3 separate regions of the Homo sapiens genome follow, and all the other regions are linked to region 3. Evidence: promoter capture Hi-C in 16 types of primary human blood cells and fetal thymus (Javierre and others, 2016). All regions are on one chromosome and are shown on one strand. The core of a region is centred on a gene start or on the middle of the fragment in contact, and the rest is flanking DNA. Distances in the headings are between cores, read along the strand shown. Region 1 holds the start of BRMS1L (BRMS1 like transcriptional repressor). Region 2 overlaps SNX6 (sorting nexin 6). Region 3 holds the start of PPP2R3C (protein phosphatase 2 regulatory subunit B''gamma).

Region 1 (2,700 bases), core at 172-2,671, 700 kb before region 3:
CAGCAACATTTAGTTAAGCATTCATTTGGCAATTTAATCAAGTGGTGACTTATGATAGCTTTTTAAGTGAGCCCAGATAATAACTATTTATCCCTCATATTGAGTACTGTCCAGTGCTGCACAAAGAAGTCACTCATAAATATTTTTGGATGGCTGATTTACTGATTGAAATTATATCCTTCCATGGAGATTTGCTTTGCAAGGGAAACATGAAAAGAGGGCATCTGGGTGATACTAGGCTGTCATCAACCTATCATCAATGCTTCCTTTACATGACCAAAATCAGGCCAAGACAAAGAAGTCAGTCTCATCTCCATCATTTGAATCGAAAGAAAATAATCCCGGTAATCACAAATTCCATTTCACTTTAGAATAACCATTCCTAAAAGTTTGCAAAATTTATTTGTAGTGTTAATCTGCCCTCCTCCCCCACCCAAAATAATTTAAAACAGCCCAAAGTTAGAAAAAACTGAAGGGAAGAAAAGACTTGGAGAATTTTCAACGCTGCCAAAACTCAGCCAATTTATAAGCATATGAAGATCCAAAATGAGCCCGAATGTTGGTCCCTTCCTCTCAGTCTTGCAAACTTCAGGGAGCTACTGAACGGGACCGCTCTCAAGTTAGCCCCCGAAAAGACACTGATGTAAAAGTGCTGACCGGCAAGTTGACTTGCAAACTGAGGTTAATTACTAAGCCGACCCTCTGTCCCGGCAACTCACTTGCGCTGAGAAGTGAGGGTTGCAAAGGTGAAAATAGGGAAAGAGGTCGGTGGGCTGGGGAGAGGAGGCATTTCCAGTTTGTCTGCTGCGGGAAGTTGTCCGCCTGGGCTGGTCGCTCCAGAGCACCACCGGGGGCAGGACCACGCCGCGTTTGGGAGCTGGACAAGCCCAGGCCCGCCCCGCCCCGCCGCCGGGACCCATCAGGAGCCAGACAGCGCCCAGCGACCGGTCAGGGTGCAGCCCAGGGCCCAGAGCCAGTCTCCGCCCCTTCCCTCTGTCCCCGCCCCGCTTTCCCAGCAGGACGCAGCCGCCTGGCGTGCGGAGAGCGGCCTGTCGCGCGCTGGGCGCGGGGACTCAGGGTCCCAGCAGTGGGTCGCGCACCTGAGCTATCTCCATCCTCGGAGACCGACGAGCTCTCAGTGTCCTCGTCCTCGGAGCTGCTCCCCTCATTTTCGGCGTAGTCCACCTCCATCTCATCGTGATGGTTGGTCTCCTTCTTATCCCCTCGGGAATGGACTGGCATTTTCCAGCCGCGCCGTCGCTTTCCACTACCGGCGCCCAGCCCGGCCACCGCCGCTTCAATGAAGGGCGCGCGGAACGCCCCAACCCACCCAGCCACCGAGCTTGCTCGCCCCCTTGGCTCCTCCCCGCCCCCGGCCCGGGCCTCACAACCTAACCCGCAGGCTCTGCGATGGGAGCTCTGCCATTGGCGGAGGCCTTCCACCGAGCCAGAGGGCGGGGGCTTGCCCTGCTCTGGTACGATTGGTTGCCCGCAATTACGACGCGGCCTTCCGATGCTTGCCGGGAGTTGTAGTTCGTAGGTCTCAGACCTGCAGGGGCTGCACGCTTCCATCCCTCGGCAGCCCTGATCACTTCTTCCTTCTGGACTTCAAGTCCCACAAGGCACGAAAGCTGACACTCTGGATCGCAGTTTATAAACTAAACAGAAACAGATTGTGCGAATTTAGTCTGTATTTATCTATTTCCCGCCAAGTGATTGTTTGACCTGCCTGACCATCAGAGATGTTACTGTTAGATGTGAAAATGTCTTTTGCCTAAAAGGATCTTTGCCTGCTCATTGAGCCTGGGGAACTGGAGAACCATCTGTTTTACTAAGCACCTTTATTACCTACCATTAATAAACTGTTTTATTTAATTATTAACTATAGACGATAACTTGCACTTTCTGTGTTGTGCAAAAATCTTTAAATTATTCTTGAAACTTTTACAATACAGAAGGTAAGGAAGTTTTATCTTGGCATTTTCAATCTAATATTTTTGGCATTTATTTTTTACCAAATGCAGTCGGAAAATGCCATCAGTCCTGATTTAACTTTAGTTTTCAATGAAAAATACATACTTAACCAGATGTACTTTCTCAAAAAAAGGGTACATAGCTCCCTCTCCCTCTCCCTCGCCCTCGCCCTCGCCCTCGCCCTCTCCACGGTCTCCCTCTCCCTCTCTTTCCACGGTCTCCCACTGATGCCGAGCCGAAGCTGGACTGTACTGCTGCCATCTCGGCTCACTGCAACCTCCCTGCCTGATTCTCCTGCCTCAGCCTGCCGAGTGCCTGCGATTGCAGGCGCGTGCCGCCACGCCTGACTGGTTTTCGTATTTTTTTGGTGGAGACGGTTTCGCTGTGTTGGCCGGGCTGGTCTCCAGCTCCTAACCGCGAATGATCCGCCAGCCCCGACCTCCCGAGGTGCCGGGATTGCAGACGGAGTCTCGTTCACTCAGTGCTCAATGGTGCCCAGGCTGGAGTGCAGTGGCGTGATCTCGGCTCGCTACAACCACCTCCCAGCCGCCTGCCTTGGCCTCCCAAAGAGCCGAGATTGCAGCCTCTGCCCGGCCGCCACCCCGTCTGGGAAGTGAGGAGCGTCTCTGCCTGGCCGCCCATCGTCTGGGATGTGAGGAGCCCCTCTACCTGGCTGCCCAGTCTGGAAAGTGAGGAGCGTCTCTGCCCGGCCGCCATCCCATCTAG
Region 2 (2,700 bases), core at 117-2,616, 520 kb after region 3:
TCCATGTCTTCTTGGAATATAATCAAGATGTGAGTATCACATTGATTGGTGGTCAAGTTTTCTTTTTCTTCTTCTTCTTCTTTTTTTTTTTGAGACGGAATCTCGCTCTGTCTTCCAGGCTGGAGTACAGTGGCATAGTGGCATGATCTTGGCTCACTGCAAGCTCCGCCTCCCGGGTTCATGCCATTCTCCTGCCTCAGCCTCCCTAGTAGCTGGGACTACAGGCGCCTGCCACCACGCCCAGCTAATTTTTTCTATTTTGAAGTAAAGATGGTGTTTCACCGTGTTAGCCAGAATGGTCTCGATCTCCTGACCTCATGATCCACCCACCTCGGCCTCCCAAAGTGCTAGGATTACAGGCGTGAGCCATAGCGCCCAGCCCAAGTTTTTTTTTTTTTTTTGAGACGGAGTCTCGCTCTGTCAGCCAGGCTGGAGTGCAGTGGCGTCATCTCAGCTCACTGCAAGCTCCGCCTCCCGGGTTCATGCCATTCTCCTGCCTCAGCCTCCCGAGTAGCTGGGACTACAGGCGCCCGCCACTATGCCCTGCTAATTTTTTGTATTTTTAGTAGAGACGGGGTTTCACTGTGTTAGCCAGGATGGTCTCGATCTCCTGACCTCGTGATCCACCCACCTCAGCCTCCCAAAGTGCTGGGATTACAGGCATAAGCCACCGTGCCCGGCCCCAAGTTCTCTTTTTAAAGAGTCATTGGAAAAGGCAAGAGTAGTTAGAAAAGGCTCAAGGTCTTTTTTTAGAATGTTTGTATTTTTCTTTTTTTTTTTTTTTTTGAGACAGAGTCTTGCTCTGTCGTCCAGGCTGAAGTGCCGTGGCGCAATCTTGGCTCACTGTGACCTCCTCCTCCCAAGTTCAAGTGATTCTCGTGCCTCAGCCTCCCAAGTAGCTGGGACTACAGGCGCATGCCGCCATGCCCAGCTAATTTTTTTTTTTTTTTTAAGACAGTTTCGCTCTTGTTTCCCAAGCTGGAGTGCAACGGTGCGATCTCAGCTCACCCACAACCTCTGCCTCCTTGGTTCAAGCAATTCTTCTGCCTCAGACTCTCAAGTAGCTGGGATTACAGGAATGCGCCACCATGCCAAGATAATTTTTGTATTTTTAGTAGAGACGGGGTTTCTCCATGTTGGTCAGGCTGGTCTCAAACTCCCAGCCTCAGGTGATCCTCCCACCTTAGCCTCCCAAAGTGCTGGGATTACATGCATGAGCCACTGCGCCCGGCCTAATTTTTGTATTTTTAGTAGAGATGGAGTTTCACCATGTTGGCCAGGCTGGTCTCGAACTCCTGACCTCAGGTGATCCACCTGCCTCAGCCTCCCAAAGTGCTGGGATTAGAGGCGTGAGCCGCACCTGGCCTGTTTGTATTTTTCAAGGTAGTTTAAGTGACACTTTTTCAGTAGTAATGCAGTTATTTCAGTAGAACTTGAGTAGATTAATTGACAGAATGATAGTTAAGCATGTTACTAGCCAGGCATGGTGGCTCATGCCTGTAACCTGTAATCCCAGCACTTTGGGAGGCCAAGCCGGGCAGATCACCTGAGGTCAGGAGTTCGAGACGAGCCTGGCCAACATGGTGAAACCCCATCTGTACTAAAAATACAAAAATTATCTGGGCATGGTGGTGGGCGCCTGTAATCCCAGCTACTCGGGAGGCTAAGACAGGAGAATCACTTGAACCTGGGAGGCGGAGGTTGCAGAGAGCCAAGATGGTGCCATTGCACTCCAGCCTGGGGGACAAGACTGAAATTCCCATCTCAAAAAATAAAAATAAAAAATAAATCATGTTACTACAAGGGACACTGATTTTTTTTGTAATCCTTAATTGCAAACCTCTTAAGAAGTAGGAGCCAGGCACGGTGGCTCAGCCTATAATCCAGCACTTTGGGAGGCCGAGGTGGGCGGATCACGAGGTCAGGAGTTTGAGACCAGCCTGGCCAATATGGTGAAACCCCGTCTCTACTTAAAATACAAAAATTAGCTGGGCTTGGTGGCGCATGCCTGTAGTCCCAGCTACTCGGGAGACTGAGGCAAGAGAATCGCTTGACCCCGGGAGGCGGAGGTTGCAGTGAGCCAAGGTTGCGCCACTGCATTCCAGCCTGGGTGACAAAGCGAGACTCCGTCTCAAAAAAAAAAAAAAAAAAAAAAAAGAAATAGGGTTATCACATTGACTAATGTTTCTTAAATTTGAGTTTGGAGTCTTCCGAAGCCTTGTGGAGAATTCCAAGGAGGTGATTGAGCTAAAGAATTCCAGATTCGGGTAAATTATTGACTCTGGATCTGTTTAACTGACCATTGGTGCTGATCACTCCTTATTTTTTCCTTCCCTGCCTAAAAACTCTCTTTTTTTTTTTTTGAGGCAGAGTCTCTGTCGCCCAGGCTGGAGTGCAATGGCACTGTATCGACTCAGTACAACCTCTGCTTCCCAGGTTCAAGCGACTCCTCTGCCTCCACCTCCCGAGTAGCCACCATACCTGGCTAATTCTTATATTTTAATAGAGACAGGGTTTCACCATATTGGTCAGGCTGGTCTCGAACTCCTGACCTCAGGTGATCTGCCTGCGTCGGCCTCCCAAGGTGCTGGGATTACAGGTGTGAGCCACCATGCCTGGCCGAGGTGATTGCACTTTAAAGATTTCTTCGTTCATAGTGCTGGCAAAAAATTTTTTACTGAATGACTGATACAAATCTTG
Region 3 (2,700 bases), core at 6-2,505:
ATGCAGTGAGATCAGCACCAGATAGTGAGAGAGATGTTGAAAAAACCCCTCTTCTATGGCAAAATTAAAGAGATTGGGGGTCGGCGGTGCAGAGTCGAAGTGGAACTTTTTAAAAGGTTTGTGTTTCTTCCTTACAGACAAATCAAGGTTCTGCTTTTGGGGCTACTTAAAAGCAAGAAGGCAGGTGAGTTTTCTCTATTAAACAACAATCCGGGGATGTCCAACGTCGCAAGCCGCAAACCAGGGGACAGAGCAGGAATCCTCTGGTGCCTCTTACATTCCAGTTCATGAACCTGAGGAAAAAGCACAAGACGGAACGCCCAGTTTTACTCACGTGGATCACAGCTGTCCTGAAAAGGAACAGATTCCCACGGGAAGCTTGCTGGAAAGGGGGTGTAAAGCCAAAACCGTATCCAGGGACCCCCAACTCCAGCCTACCACCAACAGCGGCGAAAGCCGAAGTCTAGGGGCCCTCACCCTGCATAGCTCTCTACAGACCGCAAAACTCCTCCGGTGGGGGGACGAGGAGGGAGGAGGTGGCGAGTCAGCTGCGCCAACGACTCAGGAAAGGAAGAGAGGTACAGGAAGGGCGCTGCCTAGACTGCGTACCGAACGCTGACAAATGAAGTTCACTTCATTCAACAACTCAAAGCGGCACTCAGACTTAACGCGGCCATAAACGCGGCGGAAACTACAGTGCCCACGATGCACCGCGCCAGCCCCGACCGACGGACGAGACTGACCCGGACTTAGGCGTTCCGCCTGGCCCGGCGGCGAGGAAAAAAGGCAGTTTTGAAGCATTTAGTGGCAAAAGGGGTAGGAGACGGCTGCTGAAGTGTCTACTACATTCAGGGGACCTGGAAGGCTTCCAGATATCCGCAATGAACAATGAAAAGAAATTGTGAAAGAAGGCGCTTCCCTCAAGCCGGAACTAATGAACTCCTGGGTCACGTGGTGCGCACGCGCCAAAGGCACACGATAAAGGAAAACGCGGGCTTATCGTGGCCTTTAAAATCCGGCTTGGTGAGCTTGGGTCGCCTCTGAAGGAGAACCATTTTCCATCTCTTTCATAGTTTTTTCCCCCAGTCAGCGTGGTAGCGGTATTCTCCGCGGCAGTGACAGTAATTGTTTTTGCCTCTTTAGCCAAGACTTCCGCCCTCGATCAAGATGGTGGTTGGACGGCCTTCCTAACCTTTACGGGGCCTGGCGGTGCTGACGCCTGAGCTGGTAGGGGTGGAGCAGGTAGGAAACAGCAAATGCAGAAGCTGCTGCGCGGAAGTCGGCCATGGACTGGAAAGAAGTTCTTCGTCGGCGCCTAGCGACGCCCAACACCTGTCCAAACAGTGAGTTTTGGGAGGGGCAGCCCGTTGGGATGGCCCGGCCCTAAACTCCTAGAGGTAGGGGGGAGGTGGGGAGGAGGAGCAAGGGGGAGCCGCCTTTTCCGCTTCTGTGAAACCTCCCGACAAAGGAGGCGGAGTGGAATGTGGTTTAAGGATCCCGATAGGTTTGACCCAAACTTTCCTGGGGCAGAATCTAGAGGAACGAAAAACTTAGCTTTAGTCACTGACTTCCATGGTCTTAATCTAAACTTGTGAAGAATAACTTGGAACCCCGGCTCCAACAACGCCTGAACCCCACCAGGACCTATAATTGTCCTCCTGCCTTTTTACTGTCACGCTTTTTGCTTCCCTCGTAATCCATTTTATATTTCATAATCCATTTTTCCTTTTATTTTTCTCCTTCACATTGCTTATTAACTAACCTCGTTAAATCTACCTTTCCTATTCCACACCCGCACTAAGGGCTGTTGAAAGTGGCTGGAGAAAAACAGAACCTTGGTGAGTTGTCTCACTTTTTTTTTTGAGACGGAGTCTCTTGCTCTGTCGCCCAGGCTGGCTGGAGTGCAGTGGCAGCATCTCCGCTCACTGCAACCTCTGCCTCCCGGGTTCAAGCGGTTCTTCTGCCTCAGCCTCTGGAGTAGCTGGAACTATAAGCGCGCGCAACCACGGCCGGTTAATTTTTGTATTTCTAGTAGAGACGGGGTTTCGCCATATTGGCCAGGCTGGTCTCAAACTCCTGACCTTGTGATTCGCCCACCTCGGCCTCCCAAAGTGCTGGAATTACAGACGTGAGTCACCGCGCCCCGCCGAGTTATCTCACTTTTAATACAAGTCCACTAATCTAAAGAAGGTGTTTTGGTCATGTCTACCGTGTTTTCCTGGACGTTCATTCTCCTACATTCAATTTTCATCTCCCAAACTGCCAATCTGTGTTTTCCTAAATACACTTTTTTTTTTCCGATACAGGATCTCCCTGTGTTGCCCAGGCTGGAGTGCAGCGGCGCAGTGAAGTATTGCTGCAACCTCGATTTCCTGGGCTCAAGGGATCTTCCCACCCCAGCCTCTTGAGCAGCTAGAAGTACAGGCACACGCCACCACACCCGGCTAATTTTTTATTTTTAGTGGAGATGAGGTCTTGCTATGTTGCCTGGGCTGGTCTCGAATTCCTGGCCTCAGGCAGTCTTCCTACCTCCACCTCCCAAAGTGTTGCTATTACAGACGTGAGCCGCCGCACCCAGGCAACACTCTTTTACACTATTCTTCTCATCTCCTACACCTGCAGTCTGTCCTACCCGCTTCTTACTTTAAGCTGATGAACTTGTATTTTAATATATATCTCATTAAGAAAGGAGAAGCAGTC

The links. The method cuts DNA at HindIII sites, captures the fragments that hold promoters and counts their contacts. A CHiCAGO score of 5 or more calls a contact.
Region 1: a contact is called between the fragment with the promoter of BRMS1L here and the fragment with the promoter of PPP2R3C in region 3, in 1 of 17 cell types (total B cells). The highest score is 5.4, in total B cells.
Region 2: a fragment that was not itself captured here is called in contact with the fragment with the promoter of PPP2R3C in region 3 in 1 of 17 cell types (erythroblasts); the score reaches 5.1 in erythroblasts.

What each region holds. Positions count from the first base shown.
Region 1 is chr14:35,825,059-35,827,758 of GRCh38, reverse strand. BRMS1L (BRMS1 like transcriptional repressor) reads right to left here and starts at 1,421. Exons shown (of 10, transcript NM_032352.4): 1 at 1,101-1,421. The coding sequence starts at 1,242. RefSeq lists silencers at 861-1,030, 1,281-1,380. The HindIII fragment of the contact is 11,609 bases long and covers 1-2,700 here.
Region 2 is chr14:34,600,677-34,603,376 of GRCh38, reverse strand. It overlaps SNX6 (sorting nexin 6), which reads left to right. Exons shown (of 14, transcript NM_152233.4): 6 at 1-29. Among named protein-coding and RNA genes, the nearest start is that of SNX6, 28 kb to the left of the region's middle. The HindIII fragment of the contact is 6,636 bases long and covers 1-2,700 here.
Region 3 is chr14:35,120,545-35,123,244 of GRCh38, reverse strand. It overlaps PPP2R3C (protein phosphatase 2 regulatory subunit B''gamma), which reads left to right and starts at 1,255. Exons shown (of 13, transcript NM_017917.4): 1 at 1,255-1,343. The coding sequence starts at 1,286. It overlaps PRORP (protein only RNase P catalytic subunit), which reads right to left and starts at 693. Exons shown (of 8, transcript NM_014672.4): 1 at 610-693; 2 at 1-293. PRORP-PSMA6 (PRORP-PSMA6 readthrough) reads right to left here and starts at 1,406. Exons shown (of 15, transcript NR_182666.1): 1 at 1,193-1,406; 2 at 1-293. RefSeq lists enhancers at 200-709, 1-712, 720-799, 1,340-1,469, 713-1,632 and 1 more. The HindIII fragment of the contact is 10,079 bases long and covers 381-2,700 here.